2 separate regions of the Homo sapiens genome follow, and region 2 is linked to region 1. The links are contacts of gene promoters, found by promoter capture Hi-C in blood cells and fetal thymus (Javierre and others, 2016). All regions are on one chromosome and are shown on one strand. The core of a region is centred on a gene start or on the middle of the fragment in contact, and the rest is flanking DNA. Distances in the headings are between cores, read along the strand shown. Region 1 holds the start of UTP14A (UTP14A small subunit processome component). Region 2 has its middle 4.0 kb from the start of ENOX2.

Region 1 (6,177 bases), core at 1,780-4,279:
CTCTCAGGGGAGCAATAAAAAAGCAAAGGTTGAGAAATACTGTACTAGGCAAAGGCCCTTGAATAAGTAATGTGACCTCTCTGAGCTCTGGCTGAAGAGAATATTTGCCTGTCTCCTAACTCAAAGCATTGTTAAGAGAACTGAAATAAAAATGAAATTGTACAAATATGAATTATGACTAAGTTACTAAGAGGCAGCTGTCTTTATTCATGTCCATCTATCCTATAAGTATCTCATCAAACTCTGTAGGATACCTTGACCACAGCCTTCTAGGCTTTCTTTGAGAGATGGAAGAAACTGAAGGGCATCTGACTACACTTCTTCACCCACTCTCCCAGGTATTTATGGTATGAGTCATTAACCACATCAAAAACAGTTCCTAGGGGGGGTGAGGTGAACACAATGCCCTTGGAACTCCACAGGTTTCATGCATGGGTATCTTCCTTTGTTCAACTTACCTTCAGAACTGACATTGAACTCTGACACCTTCAGACTAGCCTCAGACCTCTCAGCCAATTTCCGCCTGAAATTAGGCAAAACGATATAATAGGAATGAATAAATTTTATGGGGGCTTGGGGTTGGGAGAGACAAACACTTCTCTCTTCAAACAGGGCTTTGGTTTCTTGTATTTCTTCTAGGGTCATGTTTTGTCATGATGCAGCAAGGAGATCTGTTCCTAACTTGGACTTGGTTGTCTAACCCTCATCTCTTCTCTTTATTACAAGGTAAGCATAGTGGAAAACATATTGGACTTAGATTCAAACACACCTGAACCTGTAACTTATGAGCCAGGTGACCTTGGGGGTAAGTAAATTTATTTCTCTAATGGGGTTAAATAATGCCTACTCAATGCTTTAAAAGATTTTCAGTGTGGAATAAGACTGCAAATGCTTACAATAATAGCACTAAGACTAATAACAGCTAACAGTTAATTATATAATGCTTACTATATGCTAGGCACTGGTATTAAGGTCTTTACATGAAGCACTCAATAAATATTAGCTGCAGAGAAATCTCACGGAATTGACTATATAACCTGCCCTAACTGACGGGAACGTTACCTATTCTTTCCATCAAGGGAACTGATTGCTTCCAGAAGCTTTTGATGCTTTCTCTCTCCATCATTGTCCCCCTAAGACACAGAAAAGGAAAAACAATCAGGATGAGGGGGAGGGAAAAGACAACATGGAAATTGAGTCTCATGTAAAATCTCTTGTTATTTATTTATTTATTTTTGAGACGGCGTCTCGCTCTGTTGCCCAGGATGGAGTGCAGTGGTGTTATCTTGGCTCACTGCAAGCTCCGCCTCCCAGGTTCATGCCATTCTCCTGCCTCAGCCTCCCAAGTAGCTGGGACTACAGGCGCCTGCCACCACGCCTGGCTAATTTTTTGTATTTTTAGTAGAGACGGGGTTTCACTGTGTTAGCCAGGATGGTCTCAATCTCCTGACCTTGTGATCTGCCCGCCTTGGCCTCCCAAAGTGCTGGGATTACAGGCATGAGCCATCACCCGGGCCTGTTTTGGTTGGTCTTATAAATTATACTTATGCAACTTGAGGGTAGTGATTGTAACTTAGTTTCCAAATCCTCATAGCACTTAATATGATACAGTATCTTATATATGAAACACTAACCATTTGCAATTTATTTGAGAGACCTGAACAAATACATAGAACATTGTCACACCCTTCCATTCCAGGAATGTGCTCTCTACCCTAATTTTGAAGGCAGTTTAGCAATTGTCACCCACCTCATCTTCACTCTCACTCAAGAGGTAGTCTTTTGGCAAATCCGCTAGTTCTTCCTGTTGGCTCAAAGCCAGAAGGCTGTTAAAAGAGGCAACAGAGAAATGTGAATGCAATATACCCATGTAACAAACCTGCATATGTATCCCTTAATTATAATAAAAGTCGAAATTAAAAAAAGAAATATTATTATTTGAAGCAATGTCTAATCTATTAAAACAATCTCGAAAACATTGTAATTTCAGCACAGAATAGCCCTATCCCTCAGAAGATATATAAAGCAGCGTGAATGCCTTTGGAAACTTGTCAAGATGTGAAATTTAGACTGAAGTCAGGCATCACCTCCAAGAGTGATGCCTGACTTCAAAACTGCATGTAAAAGAGCTATCACTTTTCAGGGATTGGCACAACATTTCCTATGACCTATGGGAAGCTGTAAAAATGTCAGACCCTAGAATAATATGGCCAAAGACGCTGTTGCTAGCTAGCCCTGGAGGCAAGGCAGTTTCACGATTAATATTTCTAAGCATCCTCCATATATTTGACTCATTGATAGGCAGCCTAATCAAAAGTGTTATCTTGATCCTTGTTCCCAGGAATGGAGAAACAGGTCGAAAGCAGCTGGGTAAGCCACTTTCCCTGGGGCTTGCTTAGTAAAGTAGGTGCTTAACTAAGGAGATTGGTACCCACAAACAAATTATAAAATGTACCATTACCTAACAGCATATATTATTAGTATTTGCAAAGCCAACATTACTAAACGGACTACATTTAGTTCCGGGGGCGGGGTGGGGGGGGCACAAAACATCACAGGAGCCAAAACGTGGTGGATGACTCCAATCAGCAAAGCTTTCCAAGATTCGGGGAGTTTATAACGCCTGCACTGCCTGCGCAGAGGATTAAATCGGGCCGCGACAGAGGCAGAAAAAGGGGCCACGTGACGAAAAATGTGAAACACAGTAAATGAGCTGGGGAGGCAGAAACAGCATCAGGACCAACAGGGATGCGGCTATACAGCTGAGGAGCGGAGTAAGCGAATGAAATTAAATTAAAAGGGCTTTAAAGGCTGGATCGCGGAAAATAGGAACGAATGGCCAGCTCTTCAGGGGAACCACTGCCATCTGTTAAAGGGGGGGCTCCCATTTCCCAAAAGCTGGGGAACCCGGCCCCCAACGAGACCCAGAATCCCCCCTCCCCTCGTTGCCCTTCACCTCTCTGCAAGCCGGTTCGCAGTCATTTCAGCAGCCAGCTTCTCTCACATGGACCAAGAACGGAAGCCGAAGGAAAGCAATTTCCGTGCGGGCCGCAAAGCAATTTCTGTTTCCGTCAATCGCTCGCGACGTACACGTCACTTCCGTTCCGTACGAGGCGTGAGAGAAGCAGGAGCCGTGTAGGGAGGGGCCTGCAGAAAACTGGGAGGCCTGAGATGAAACGGCTGTCAGCGGGTGGGGCATTCCTTTCTCCACCCACCCCGTATTTCTCTGGCGCGCGGGTGTCTGTCCTCCTGGCCCCTGGTTTCCACGTGGCCCAAGGTGGGTTAGCTTAGGGCGACGGTGCTGCGCTCTCAGGGGCTGAGCCCGCGCCTTCATTCGTCACTGCAGAATCCAGAAGGAAAGACTACAGCGCCCGTCCTTGTGCGACGGCGTCCTGCAAGCCGACCACAAGCCAGCTCGGGGGTTTATTGAATGCCTATTAAGTGGCCAGATTGTGCCGGGCCCCGGAGATCCGATGGTGAACATAACAAGTTTCCTTCCATTTAAGGAAAAATCGCCTTTGATCCCTTGTAATTGCAGCTTTGTTCTTCATTTCCTGAGTCAAAAGATTTTTTTTATCCAAGAAGGGGCCATCAGTAACTACGCTTCCTCACCTCCCATCAACTTAAAAAAATTTTTTTAAACAACTTTTTTTCTCCCATCAACTTTTAAGAATTTTATTTATTTATTTTTGAGACAGAGCCTTGCTGTGTCGTTCAGGCTGGAGTGCAATGGCGTGATCTCAGCTCACTGCAACCTCCACCTCCCGGGTTCAAGCGATTCTCCTGCCTCAGCCTCCCGAGTCGCTAGGATTACAGGCACCCGCCACCATGCTCGGCTAATATTTGCATTTTTAGTAGAGACGGGGTTTTGCCACGTTGGCCAGGCTGGTCTAGAATTCCTGGCCTCAAGTGATCTGCCCGCCTCGGCCTCCCAAAGTGCTGAGATTACAGGTGTGAGCCACCGGGCCCGGCCTAATATATATATATATTAATTAATGATTGTAGAAAAATAATAGACAAGAACATTCTTTTCATTTTTTTTTTTTGAGACGGAGTCTCACTCCGTCGCCCACGCTGGAATGCAGTGGTGCGATCTCAGCTCACTGCAAGCTCCGCCTCCCGGGTTCACACCATTCACCTGCCTCAGCTTCCTGAGTAGCTGGGACTACAGGCGCCTGCCACCACACCCGGCTAATTTTTTTTTTTTTTTTAAGTAGAGACGGGGTTTCACCGTGTTAGCCAGGATGGTCTCGATCTCGTGACCTCATGATCCACCCGTCTCGGCCTCCCAAAGTGCTAGGATTACAGGCGTGAGCCACGGCGCCCGGCCCGTTCTTTTCATTCTTGTAATCCATTCCCATTTTGCTTTTGCCCCATTATTCCACAGAAATTGCTCTGGACAAGATCAGCGACACCCAAAGTTGCTAAATAAAACGGATACCTCTCAGTCTTTGGCTTCCCAGAACTTTGTGTGGCATTTAGTAACTGTTGATTTCTTTTCTTTTCTTTTCTTTTCTTTTCTTTTCTTTTTTTTGAGACGGAGTTTCGCTCTTGTTGCCAAGGCTGGAGTGCAGTGGCGCGATCTTGGCTCACTGTAACCTCCGCCTCCTGGGTTCAAGTGATTCTCCTGCCTCAGCCTCCCGTGTAGCTGGGATTACAGGCATGCGCCACCACGCCTGGCTAATTTTTGTTTTTTTTTTTTTTTTGAGACGGAGTCTCGCTCTGTCACCCAGGCTGGAGTGCAGTGGCACAATCTCAGCTCACTGCAACCTCTGCCTCCCTGTTTCAAGTGATTCTCCTGCCTCAGCCTCCCGAGTAGCTGGACTACAGGCACATGCCACCATGCCCGGCTAATTTTTTGTATTTTTAGTAGAGATGGGGTTTCACCGTGTTAGCCAGGATGGTCTCGATCTCCTGACCTCGTGATCCGCCCTCCTCGGCCTCCCAAAGTGCTGGGATTACAGGCGTGAGCCACCGCGCCCAGCCTAATTTTTGTATTTTTAGCAGAGATGGAGTTTCGCCATGTTGGCCAGGCTGGTCTCGAACTCCTGGCCTCAGGTGATCCTCCCACCATGGCCTCCCAAAGTGCTGGGATTATGGGCGTGAGCCACCGCACCCAGCCGATTTGTTTTCTTATTCATGAAATATTTTTGGCCATCTAGTATGTGCCAAGCCTCTAGGCATTGGGAATACATTGGTGAACAAAGCAGATATGTCCCATTGCTTCCTAGAGCTTACTTTCTAGTGGGATTAAAGACAATTTTGTCATTGTTGAAACTCCATCCTGAGATTTCATGACACCATTCTCTCCTGGTATCAGCCCTATGACCATCTTCCTCAGTCTTCTCTGCTGGATGCTTTTAATATACTTTTAATATGCTTACTCCCTAAATGATGATGTTTCCGAGAATTCTGCTCTAAGCCCTCTTTATTTATTACAGATACTCTTCCTAAGTGAAATTGCCTTTAACAGCTGTATGAGAACAAAATTTATATCTCTAGCCCTAATCTCTTTCTTGAGCTCCAGACTGGTATATCTGATTGCCTCCTGGCTATTCTTTTTGCCCCACAAGCACATCAAACATAAAATGACCAATAATTTCTATCTTTTCCACCAGAGTTCCTTTCCTGAATTTCCCATTTGTATGATTGGCCCATCAACTACCCAGTTAGTAAAATCAGAAGTCTGAGAGTCATCTTAGATTCCCCTCCCCCTTATGCTCCACAGCTGTTTGCCCACATTATCAGTTTTACTTCCCTGAGTCTCTTTCAAATATCTCCTTACCTTTCTCCATCATGTTTGCCATTGTATTAGTTCAGACCTTTGCAATTTGAAGCCTGTGGTATTGCAGTAATCTTATAGAAAGGGGGAGCATTATAGCATTTTCATACTCATGAAATATGAAGAATGAACGAATAAATACATTTCATGATGAAGAACCTGAGTTTTAAAGCTGGACTCTGGGATTGAATCTTAGCTCTGTCACTTACTAGTTTTATAATTTTTTGGGGGGGTTGGGGGAGACGGAGTCTCGCTCTGTCACCCAGGCTGGAGTGCAGTGGCGTGATCTTGGCCCACTGCAACCTCCACCTCCCGGGTTCAAGCAATTCTCCTGCCTCAGCTTCCCAAGTAGCTGGGACTACAGGCATACGCCACCACACCCAGCTAATTTTTTG
Region 2 (6,177 bases), core at 2,542-5,041, 1.0 Mb before region 1:
CTATCACCACAGGCTGAGCAAACAGTCTCTTAAGCTTGGTCACAGAGCAAGCTGCCAACACTGAATGCAGATCCTGTGTTTAACCCTGACCACCAGCCAAACACCTAACCCAAGACATAGCCTAAACTCCTAACTCTGAACTTGGAGGCTTAACTCCAATTTCACACCAAGCCTTTAACCCTGGCCACAAATGAAGACCCTAATTCTATCCACAAACTGAGCCACTTTCTGGCCACACTCCAAGGTCTTAATCCTGATTAAATCAAGTCCCTAGGCCTAGTTACATACTGACTGTCTACATCTGGCCCAAGAGTAAGTACTTAAGACTGGTCCCAACCTGAATCTCTAACCCTGATCCCCTATTGAACCATAACTATGGCTACTGTATAAGTCCTTAATTCACGATACAGGGATCAAAAATAACATCAGATATAGCCCCTAAGTCTGTCCCCAGGCTGAGTCTCTAAACTAGGCTACAGACTGCATGACCTAACTCTGGGATATACTTAACATCCTGAACTGACCACAAAATGAGTGCTCAGCATAGATACTAACTGAGCTCTAGCCCTGACTACAGACTGAGGCTCTAACTTGGTCACAGCCTGAGATCTGATCTTGGAAACCAACCCAGCTACAATTTCCCAGACTTAGCACTAACCAGAAAATGACCCCAACATTGGCAACAGAATGACTACTAAACTTGGCCTCATACAGAGACGAAAACATGTACAGAGACCAGACTCTAAACTTGTCCCAACTCTGTGCCTTAATCATGGCCAAGAAGTGAAACCAAATCTTCCACAAAACTTGAGAATATTTTGACCACAGCATATGTCCTAATCCTGACTATAGACAGAACCCTGAACATGGCCACAAACTGAGTCTTAACCATGTTCAAAGCCCAAGTTCTAAACCTGGACAGAGACTGGGTTCATAAATCTGATCAGGAAATAATCTACTGATCCTGGGACAGACTGAGCCCTATCACTGGCCACTGATTTGACCCCTAAACCTTACAGCTTCTAACTGGTTACAGACTGCATCTCTAACTCTAGCCATAGACTGAATTCCTAACTCTCATCACAGACTGAGCCCATAAGCCTAACCTCTGACATGAGCTTTCAACCTGAAAATAAATCTGATTTCTCCAAATGGCTAATGACTGATCCTGAATTTTTGAGATAGACTGAACCCTATCTCTGGCTAAATGTTCACCCGAGACTGGATCCCAATTTCAACCACAACTTTAACTTTAACCCTGGCTACCGACTGATTCCTAATACCAGAAATTAAGCTGCTCACCAGCACTGGGCAGAGACTGAACCCAAACCTTGAAGATGAATGAAGGACAAACTAGACAAAGACAAAACAAATACTTTTCATTTTCTTGGCCTAAAACCCTGCAACAGATTTAATTCTAACCCTGAGCACAGACGGAACTCACCATGGCTAAGATCTGAGCCCTCTTCCTGGCCACATTCTGAATACTGAGCTGGGATGAAGACTGTAAGTCCCACCACAGTCTGAGACCTAAAGGCCAAGCCCTAAGCCTGGTTAGAGAAATGATTCCTGACCCTACAAGACTAAATCAAAATCCTGCTCATATTATCAGATCTAACAACAGGCTGAGACTAAGTACTCACCTTTGTCACATATCAAGTCTTAAACCCATAAACAAAGTTCACTGTATTAGTGGCCACAAACTGAGTCCTAGCACTAGCTGGAGGTTGAGCAATCAGTCTGGTCACAAACTTAGTCCTCAATTGTGAATAGATGTACCCATGGCACTGGGCACATTATGGTCACTAACAATTAGCAAAGACTGAACTCTACTACTGATACCGAAATGCCTGCTACACTAAGCCAGAGTCTAAGTGCCAGACTGACAACAGGCAATGAACACTCTGAACTCAAACCCTGGCAACATCCTGATCCCAAAACCCTGATTACAGCCTGAGCCTCTAAAGCTTTCAATCTGGATTTTATGTGTTGTTTGTTCTCATCTCAACTCTATCCACTGACTGACAAATAACATCAACAGCTAATCCAAAAAACCTGTTTACACTCTTAGCCTTAAAACCTTCTTCATAGTAAGCCTTACCTTGGTTATTGGTAACTCCCAAACTCTGGTACAAGTTTAATCAGATAGCACTACCACCAATACTCAGTGAACACAAATGCTACATAAAGTCATAGTGGAATTACTCCCTCCAGACTCAACTCTGATAGTGGTCAAATTGAAATGGCTAATACAGGTCACCGACTGAGCCCTGCTCTGGCCACAGAATGAGGGCCAACACAGGCCACTGTGAGTTAGCTCCATAGAACATTGTTGATATGAGCTATGGACAAAGACAGAATCCTGACACTGGCTAAAGTCAGAAACCACACCTTGAACTTACTCTAGCCAAATATGCATCCCAAATCCTGTTCATATTCATCATTGAAATCCTGGCCACAAACTGTATCATAATTTTGTCCATATATGAAATGCTAACTCTGGTTTGAGACAAGGCTCTAGGGCACATGACAGGTAATGTCCTAACATGGCAACAGACTGAATATTAGACATTGACTGTGCCTTACCATTGGCCACGGACTGAGACTTAATTATTGGACCCAGAATAAACTCTAACCATGAATACGAATTGAAACTTAACCTGAAGAAAGACTGAACATAAATCCTGTTCATATTCTTACTTCATTTTTTCCTAGGCAACATCATCAGCATGAAGACTAATCCCAGGCAGAGCCATGGTCCTGGCCTTTATTGACTTTCAAGTCTAGAAATGAAAGTGATTCCAACATTGATCAAAAACTAAAGTCAAACATTGAGCTGAGCCCTAACCTTGGGTGTGGTCTAAGTCTGGTCCACAGACTGAGCCCTAACTCTAATTTTAGAATGAGGCCTCTTCCTACACACAGACTAAATCCTAATTCTGGCCAAAATTTGAACCCAAATCTTGCACCTTGACTTCATAAACCAGGCCACTCTAGACTTACAGCAGCCTCAGAGTGAGCTTTAACACCCTGAGGCTGCTGTTAGTCCAGAGTGGTCAGAAATGCACTTTAATCTGTGACACAGACTGAACCATGGCTCTAAATCTGGGGCCTAATATTGCTATCAGGCTTAACCCTAAGCTTGGTTTGATGGTCTTCTGATCCTGAATCCACAATGGCCTGTAAAAACAGCTACAGACTTACTAAATCTTAACCTGAGAAAAGATTGAAGCTAAATACATTCCACATTATACACATGAACCCTGGCCTTGACCTGGGCTCTACACTGGCTCTGGATACAGCTCTAACCTTGACTTCCTAATTGTTCTCTGAATCCAGCCAGACTGTTTGACCCTGGGCCAGTATTTCACAAATTCATCTTATTATATAACAACAGACCAAAGAGTATCACGTTTGTATATACACATACAAATATATGTATACATTTGTGCTTATATATAATATATATTATATATAAAATTTCTGTATGGCTTATTGGAGATATAGATATGTTTTATATATTATATATAAAATTTCCATATGGCTTATTGGAGATATATATATGTGTGTGTGTGTGTATTTATATCACCATACAGAAATAGCCATACACAGCTGTGACATACACAGTAAGAAATATTACTTATCACAGCTATGTATTTTAATTATTTATCTTGTTTGTTGATGGCTTCTTCCTAACAGAATATAGCCTCCAAAGGGAAGGGATGTTGTATGTGTTTTCCACTTCTCTATTCCCAGCATCTAGAATAATGTCTGGCACATTATAGGTACTCAATAAAAACTTGTTATATTGATGAAGGAGTAATTTCTTCTTACTATTCTGTCCTGCTACTTGACCTCTCTGTAATATATGCCAGTAATTCTACTTTGTTTTCTCTTGGTTCATCTGTTTGGGCATTCCCTCTCAGCTTCCTTGGAAGGCATCTCTTCTTCTACTTGCTACTTGAATATCATTATTTTCCAGGATTCCATAATCTTTGTCTTTTTAAAAACTATTATTCTAAATACTCTCTAAATTGGCTGGGCACAGTGGCTCACGCCTGTAATCCCAGCACTTTGGGAGGCTGAGGCGGGTGGATCACTTGACGTCAGGAGTTCGAGACCAGCCTGGGCAACACAGTGAAGCCCCATCTCTACTAAAAATAAAAAAAAAAATAGCCAGCTGTGGTGGCAGGCACCTGTAATCCCAGCTACTCGGGAGGCTGAGGCAGGAGAATCACTTGAACCCAGGAGGCAGAGGTTGCAGTGAGCCGAGATTGTGCCACTGCACTCCAGCCTAGGCAACAGGGTAAGAAACCGTCTCAAAAAAAAAAATACTCTCTAAGTAAAGTTTAAACAATTTTTCACTTATTTAATTGCCCTCTATATTATACTAATGTCTCCCAAATGTTTAGTTCCAAGCAAGACCTCTCTCCCAAGCTTCCGACCGGCATTTCTCAGCAGCCTATCAGGCATCTCCAACCAAAAGTTCCACAGACTCTTCAAATTTTAAATGTTCAAAACTGATTTCCTCCTATTCTTCACAAAACTTGCTATTCTTTCTAGGTTCAATATCTCAGTGAATGGTACTACCATACACTTAGTCTTCCAAGTCAGAACTTGGGAGTCGTAATGGACTCCTCCCCGTCTCTCACTTTCCACATCTACCAACTCCATCTGATTATTCCATTTCCTGCTAGAAATACTTTGATGAACAGGAACCCATGTTTTAACTCACCATTAAAACCCAAAACCTGTCATAGTGTATGGAACATAGTAGGTGCTCTGCAAATACTTTGAAATCAATGATCAAATCAAAGTAAAGAGTCATGGAAAAAAAGATAAAAAGAAAGGAGACAAAGCTGAGAAAAGAAATTCTGCATTTGATTCACACAATGTTTTTCTGGTGGCCATAATACTGAAAATGCCTTGTTTCACTCCTTTTTATGGCTGAAATGAGGTGATTTTTCTTTTTCTCTTTTTTCTTTCTTTTTTTAATTTTTTAATTTTTTTTGAGACAGAGTCTTGCTCTATCACCCACTACACTCGAGTGTAGTGGTACAATATCGGCTGACTGCAGCCCTAACTTTCCAAGCTCAAGGGATCCTCCTGCTTCAGCTTCCTGAGTAGCTGGGACTACAGGCATGCGCCACTATGCCTGGCTAATTTTCTTGATTTTTTGTAGAGACAAGGTCTCATTATGTTGCCCAAGCTGGTCTCGAACTCCTGGGCTCAAGCAATCCTCCCAACTTGGTGTCCCAAAGTGCTAGGGTTACAGGCATGAGCCCCGGCACCCAGCCGATTTTTCTTTTTTTAAAAAAGCAAATTATTTTCCTGGAGGAATTTAAAAGTATAAAAAGTATTAAAACATAATATAGCAATTCAATTACCACCCTCCAGAATGATTCCCCATAATACCCTAGCTATGTGTTCCCAGTATGTTCTATGTGTATATGCTTTAAAAAATAAACACTATATAAGCACAAAAATTCCTCTGATGGTTCTCTCCCACTTTCAAGTTAAATTATGAACTAATTGATATGACCCCTTGTTGCTGCCTGATCTAGTCTCTGCAATATGGAACTTTTGCTATTGTTCTCTGCACTCTTTCATGCCTTTATGCCTTTGCATATGCTTTGTATAGAATATGGTTGACCTCCCTGCCCCAAATCTGACAAATATTTTACTGGTTCTTCAACCAGTTCTCCAGAAGTAGAACAAGTTCTTCCTCCTCTATGTTCCTATAGAACCCTATGTAGACTTCTTTACAGCATTTTGCACATTGTATACTCATCTATTCCTCCCCCCAGATTCTCCTCTACTACAACTCCCCTCACCTGGATTTTGAGCTACTTGAGGGTAGGGACTATTTTTCCAATTCTGTGGCAACAGTGCCTAGCCCAGAGCTTTGCACAAAGCACTATGCTGAATAAATGGTTGAATTTATTAAATCGTCTTCCTCCTTCACTTATCTTTTTAAAATATTGGGCAATTACCTCAGCAAAATGCAATTCCCCTGTCTTTCCCTTCATTTTACTCGTGAGTCGAAAAGTTGTCCTCATCAAGAAGTTGTAGTAATTCAACTGTAACAAGGCTACAAGGATTCATCTCTAACAGAGAAAAAAAAAGGTCAAAAGTTGGGAGTGAAATTAGCCCTAATAAACAACCATTTTCCTCAAC

What was found. The method cuts DNA at HindIII sites, captures the fragments that hold promoters and counts their contacts. A CHiCAGO score of 5 or more calls a contact.
Region 2: a fragment that was not itself captured here is called in contact with the fragment with the promoter of UTP14A in region 1 in 3 of 17 cell types (naive CD8 T cells, activated CD4 T cells and non-activated CD4 T cells); the score reaches 8.0 in naive CD8 T cells.

What each region holds. Positions count from the first base shown.
Region 1 is chrX:129,903,016-129,909,192 of GRCh38, reverse strand. It overlaps UTP14A (UTP14A small subunit processome component), which reads right to left and starts at 3,029. Exons shown (of 15, transcript NM_006649.4): 1 at 2,957-3,029; 2 at 1,751-1,826; 3 at 1,063-1,133; 4 at 459-523. The coding sequence starts at 2,982. LOC105373335 (a long non-coding RNA gene) reads left to right here. Exons shown (of 3, transcript NR_188631.1): 3 at 640-1,929. The HindIII fragment of the contact is 20,573 bases long and covers 2,597-6,177 here.
Region 2 is chrX:130,904,112-130,910,288 of GRCh38, reverse strand. No RefSeq gene overlaps it. Among named protein-coding and RNA genes, the nearest start is that of ENOX2, 4.0 kb to the right of the region's middle. The HindIII fragment of the contact is 1,296 bases long and covers 3,144-4,439 here.